Linked DNA regions of Homo sapiens: region 1 is linked to region 2. The links are contacts of gene promoters, found by promoter capture Hi-C in blood cells and fetal thymus (Javierre and others, 2016). All regions are on one chromosome and are shown on one strand. Each heading gives the region's core, a stretch centred on a gene start or on the middle of the fragment in contact. The rest is flanking DNA. Distances are from core to core; before and after follow the strand shown. Region 1 overlaps ANKS6 (ankyrin repeat and sterile alpha motif domain containing 6). Region 2 holds the start of CORO2A (coronin 2A).

Region 1 (2,973 bases), core at 301-2,800, 580 kb after region 2:
TGACATCTAAGAACTATGAAGAGTGGGGTTTTGCCTGGACATAGAGTCCCCTCAGAGGAGGAAAGGGTTATGCTGCACTACTGGGGAGTCACTTGGTGGAGGAGCCAGCTCACACTCACGACTAGGAACCCGCACTCTGGGGGCTCACCCAGAAATCAACCAAGGCAAAGAGGTTCAGGAGGCAGAGGCAGAGTCTGAAGACACTAAAAAACTTCTTGTTCCAGGAAGGCATCTAGGTTTTCTTGCTTACTGCATTATCTGTAGATGCTAACAATGTGGTGACTGTTCTCTGGCTGCATTAATGGAAGCACAGTGCCCAGAAGCAGGGAGACAAGGTCCCGGCTCTGTCCTGCTCATGTCCTTCCTTCAGCTCCTCCCTTAGGCCACGCTGTCACCTCTGGAGTGCTACACAAGTTGTTCCCTCACACCAGAACAGTTGCACCAACACCCCTGGCCCACCCACACCCCTTTTACCTGGCTCCATTCTCATCCTTCAGATCCCCATCCAGATGGCCCTGATGCCCTCAAACCTGGGTAGGGCCCCCCACCTGTGCCCCTACAGCATCCTTCCTGCTCCACAACAACCCCTATCACACTGAGCTGTGACTGCCTGTGTCCTTAGAGCGGTTGCCAAATTTCCCAGTTCACAGTTGGATCCTTACTGTTAGCTGTGCCAGGCACAGAGCAGATGCTCCCAGGATGTATACAGTGGATGAATAAGGTTGAAGGACAACAAAGACCACTAAGAACGCTGTCAACAGGAACAGCCAACACGGACATGAGCTTATCCTGTGCCAGGCCCTGTTCTAAATGCTGAGGTGTGGGGCTGAGAGCTGAACCCAGGCAGGTTGCTCCTCAACTCATGCTCTTAAACCATTCATCCTCATCAATGAACAAATGTGTGCAGTGTGAGGCTGGGTGACCTGTGGGACTGCAGGAAGTGGGTGTGTACCCTGCCACTGTGCAGCAGCCCAGTGCCCCTCAAACCTGGAGATGTGAGGGGAGGTAAACGCCTGGTGCGGAGGACCATTTCAGCCCTTCTCATGCAGCCCAGGAGTGGCTGGCTGGAAGGGGCCTGTCTTTAGTCCTGTCCCATGACTAAGGCACTGCCCATGCTTCCCGGCAAGTGGCCCATGTTAGAACAGAATCTGTGAGTGTAACAGGAGGAGGCCACACAAAACAAGCACCTTGCCAACAGGAGCGCTGCCACCTGCAGGGGAGGCTGGAAGCTCAGACGGGCTGGACCCCGGTGCTGGCCCCACAGGGCTTGACCGATGGCTGGGTTTCTGCTCCAATAATCCGGCTGCTTTTTTCCTCTGGGCAGCGATTTGGGACAAGACATTGTCTATGCTGCCACCTGAGGAAACACAAAATGAGTGAACACCATGGGCACAGAGGGCTTACTCCAACACAAGGGTGGTGGACTGTCGTGTGATGATTGGGTTGGAGCCAGTCTCCCAGACTCCCTTCCCCATGTGGCTCCAGGACAGGACTGACCACAGGAGAATTCTGCAGGAGAACCAGGAGGTAGATGTTTAGGCAGCAGGCTCTGTGCTGCGAAGGCGTAATGGTAAGAGGTGGGAAGCAGCAGCAAAGGCAAAACCCAGTCCATCCTCGCTTTCCCCGTGCCACAGCCAGCTTGTGCCGGCCCCCACCAGGCACAGATGCAACACCCTGCACTCGATGCCCACAGAAGCCCCTCTGCAGAGCCGGCCAGCAGCTGCACAGACCGTCTTGTCTGGCTGCACCAGGGCTTCAGGAGGGCTAGTGAGTGATTGGTCCCTCACCCTTTGACTCTCCCTTTATGTGGCCACCTACTCTCACGACTGAGTCAATAAATTCCCAATTCCATAATGCTCAGAGTGCTCTGCTTCCTGACTGAACCCTGACTGCCATTCTCCCTCACCCTGCTTCCCAAATCTACTGGTAACCTTGAACTATTATAAAATAAAGGGGCCGGGTGCAGTGGCTCACGCCTGTAATCCCAGCACTTTGGGAGGCCGAGGCGGGCAGATCACAAGGTAGAGATCGAGACCAGCCTGGCCAACATGGTGAAACCCTGTCTCTACTAAAAATATAAAAAATTAGCTGGGTGTGGTGGCGGGCACCTGTAATCCCAGCTACTTGGGAGGCTGAGGGAGGAGGATCGCTTGAACCCAGAAGGGGGAGGCTGCAGTGAGTGAAGATCGCACCACTGCACTCCAGCCTGGCAACAGTGAGACTCTGTCTCAAAGAAAAAAAAAAAAAAAGAAAGAAAGAAAGAAAAGAAAACAGTGATAATACCCAGGGCTGGGGGGTGCTCAAGAGGGACACTAATGACTAACATTTATAGAGGATTTACTATGTGCCAGGCGCTGCTGTAAGTATTTCACATGTTTAAACAGAGCCATTCTGGAGGGCAAAACATATCAAAAACCTCAAAAATAGGCATACTCACAAACTCAGCCACCCTGATTCCAGCAAATTTAAATAAATGAAATCACTGAACATACAGGTGAATATGGAGGCATGAAGGTATTACGTAGGGAGGTATTACCTATAAAAAGCAAAAATCTAGGAACAGCCTCAGTGTTCAACACAGGGAATTGGTTAAATGAACTGTGATGCCTCATACAAATGGAATACTGTTTGATTATTAAACAAGGTGCTGTAGATATATATGTATCAACATAAAAAGGTGCTCACAATCTAGCAATGTGAGGAAAAAGAAAAAAGCAAGTTACAGAGCAGTTTATAGTTTAGAAAGGCACGTGGTTCCAAGAACAGGCTCTGAAGTGAGACTGCCTGGGTTTGGATCCTGGCTCTGCCAACTAATAGCTATTTGACCCCGGACGAGTTATCTAACTGTCCTTAGCCCCAATCCCTCATCTGTAAAACAGAGGTGGTAACTTCACTGCCTGCTGGGGCACTGAAGGAGATAATTCATTCGAAGGGCTTGGCACGCTACTTGACAAATATTAAGTGCTCCATAAA
Region 2 (2,965 bases), core at 58-2,557:
GAAAGCGGAGGCCCCACAGCCTGCTCCAGGGCAGACACCTCGGCTCCCTCTTCTTGCCTTGGCTCCCTGGGATCTGATGGGAGAAACTGCTGGGCCTGGGGCTGCTGGGTCTGGAGATGAGCATATTTAAGGGACCTGACCACTGCCCCAGGGTGAGGGAGGAAGGGTCAGAGGTTGTTTGTGTGTCCAGAGCAGGACCAGCAGGAGAGGCAGTGACTGGGTAGCAGATTCCAGCTTGGTTTACAACTAGTGAGATTCCTATCACAAGGAGTGTGCAAGGGGGCAGCAAGACCTTCCAGAGGGGATCTTACAGAGGGGCTGGGCCAGATGCCATAGGTCTTCTTTACCTAGGGAGCCTGGGACCACAGTCCCTCAGACCTGTGCTCTGCCCCATCCCTTAATGCCACGCGGACACAGCACCTTGGCACTGTCACCCCTCTGAGGTCCAGGCGTGGCCGCCAGTCACCCCTTGTCACACCAGCTAGTGTGTGTCACACCTTATCACACACTAGCTCTGGGACACAGAGCTAGGCACCAGCACCTGGCCCGGGTGGGGAAGGGGAAGGAGCTATCCTATACCACTCTCTAAATCGAGGTGCCTACGTGGGGCTGGTCCAGGCAGTCGTGCCGCCAGGAGTCCAGCCACCTCCAACCTAGGGCTCCTCCAGCCCCAGACGAGTAAACCCTCTTGGCGGGCCGGCTGATGCCCCACATGCACGCCCAGGCCGGCTTGGCGGGGACCCGGGGATGCCCCCCACCCCACCGTTTCCTGTACCAGGAAGCTGAGGCCCAGCAGGTAACGCAGCCAAGAGGGGGAGGGTCCCGACAAGAGTCCCATGGAGCACCCGGGCCACAGCAGGGGCCTGTCGGGACCGGCTGGCCGCGCCCAGAGTGAGCTTCCCTCACCGCGGGCAGGAGGGGTGGGCGGTGCAGACAGTGCTCATGAGGGCAGCGAGCCGTCGGGAGCCCGGACCTCGAGGCGGCCCCTCCCAACAACCCCGCGAGAAGGGGGCCACCAATGAGCAAGCTATCCTGACGGGGAAACTGAGGCCTGGAGAGGAGCAGTGCTTTGTGCAAGGTCACGCAAAGGGGCTGAAAGCCAGGTCCCCCGCGCTCCGAGCCCCGCATCCCTCCCTCTCCGGGAGCTGCAGCCGCAGCGCGCACGTCCCGCCCGACGCCCCCATCGCGCAGACCGGGAAGGCACGGCCGGCGGCGCAGGGCCGCCCTACCTTGATGACTGCCGCGCAGGTGGCGGTGGCGGCGGCGGCGTCCAGCTCCGGCTCCGCGCTCCTCGCCGCCCGCCGACTCCCGGCGCCCAGAGCCGCCGCCGCCTCCCCCTGCAGCCCGGCGGGCGGGGCCGGAGGGCGGGGCGGGGGCCTGGCCCAAGGTCCGCCCTTTTGCCCGCCCCGCGGGTCCGCCCTGGCCACCCTTTTCCGCCCCCACGACCCCGACCGCGCTCCTGGCTCCCCGGGGCGGGTCTCGGGGCGCGCACACGTGCTGGGAACAGGCGCGCACACGCCGCAGTGATTGGGGCGGGCTGCCGGCCACCAGGCGGAGGCTGGGGACAGGCAGAGCCGCGGGCCCCACGTCGCGCCGTGCCCTCGCTGCGTGGTGTGGGATGAGGAACCTGACCTCCCGGAGCCTCAGTTTCCCCCGTTGTGAAATGGAGACAGTAACCGCGTCGGCCTCTTAAGGCTGTTTGAGCCCTGGATGTGACGATCCCGGCCGGGTACAGTGCGCGCGCCGAGCCCGGCCAGGGAAGCGCTCCTTTCCCCGAGCAGTTACAGCGGTTACCGAGGCTTCCCCGTCCGCAGGGAGGAGAGGAGCCGGGAGCGCCGCTGGGAACCGAGGAGGACGCCCTTCCTTCTCTCGGGACCAGCCGGGGGCGCTGCTGCCAGCCTCGCTGGCTGGAGAGCCCTGAGGACACTAGACAATGGGGAGGCCCTACCTTTGGGTACCACCCCCACCTAACACTACTGAGCCACGCACTCCTCTAAGCGCCTTCTGTGCATTACCTCGCTTCACTGTCACACAGGCCTATGAGGTTGATACCATTACTCACCTATTTAACACAAAAGAGCTGAGGCACAGAGATATTAAGTACCTAGGTTAAGATCACCCGGCTAGTCATGCAACCCCAGGCAGTATGGCTCCCACGGCTACTAAGCTAACAGCCACTCCACTCCACACCACGTCTGTGAAGAGCTCTTGGTTTTGTTCAGTAGAGACGGGTTATCTTGAGGGCCTTGAACTGCTCCGTGGCACATAGTAACCACTCAATATATAGTTGTGGAGTGGATAACAGAGTACACTGTTACTACTTTACATATCTGTATCGTTTCTTCTAAGCTTCTAATAATAGTGGCTTTATTTAGCCACTATTATTACCTCCATTTTACAGATAAGAAAACTGAGGCTTGGAGTGGCAAGGTACTTAGGGAGCTCTTGATTCTCTCCTTAGAATGTGACTCAGCTTCCATAGTCCACTGTACCACCCCCCTGCCCAGAGCTGGACGGGCTCCCTGCCTACCACCCAAAGCCCAGTGTGCACTATGGTCCTGAAAACCCCATCCTACAGCTCTGATTCAGACCTTCTGGAGCTGGATTGCCCAGCAGGTAGACTGAACGCATGCTTCTGGTGTTAGCGTGCAAGAGTTGGGTATCAAGCATATGGATGGCTGGGCGCAGTGGCTCATGCTTGTAATCCCAGCACTTTGGGAGGCCAAGGCAGGTGGATTGCTTGAGCTCAAGAGTTCAAGACCAGCCTGGCCAACATGGTGAAAACCTGTCTCTACTAAAAATACAAAAATTAGCCGGGCGTGGTGGCATGTGCCTATAGTTCCAGCTACTTGGGAAGCTGAGGCAGGATAATCACTTGAACCTAGGAGGTGGAGGTGGCAGTGAGCCGAGATCACATCACTGCACTCCAGCCTGGGCTACAGAGTGGGACTCTGTCTCAAACAAA

Evidence for each region. The method cuts DNA at HindIII sites, captures the fragments that hold promoters and counts their contacts. A CHiCAGO score of 5 or more calls a contact.
Region 1: a contact is called between a fragment that was not itself captured here and the fragment with the promoter of CORO2A in region 2, in 1 of 17 cell types (endothelial precursors). The highest score is 5.1, in endothelial precursors.

Annotation. Positions count from the first base shown.
Region 1 is chr9:98,766,894-98,769,866 of GRCh38, forward strand. It overlaps ANKS6 (ankyrin repeat and sterile alpha motif domain containing 6), which reads right to left. Exons shown (of 15, transcript NM_173551.5): 11 at 1,188-1,357. Among named protein-coding and RNA genes, the nearest start is that of ANKS6, 28 kb to the right of the region's middle. The HindIII fragment of the contact is 3,112 bases long and covers 1-2,973 here.
Region 2 is chr9:98,191,330-98,194,294 of GRCh38, forward strand. CORO2A (coronin 2A) reads right to left here and starts at 1,308. Exons shown (of 12, transcript NM_052820.4): 1 at 1,230-1,308. RefSeq lists an enhancer at 161-815 and silencers at 968-1,017, 1,088-1,637. The HindIII fragment of the contact is 3,890 bases long and covers 1-2,347 here.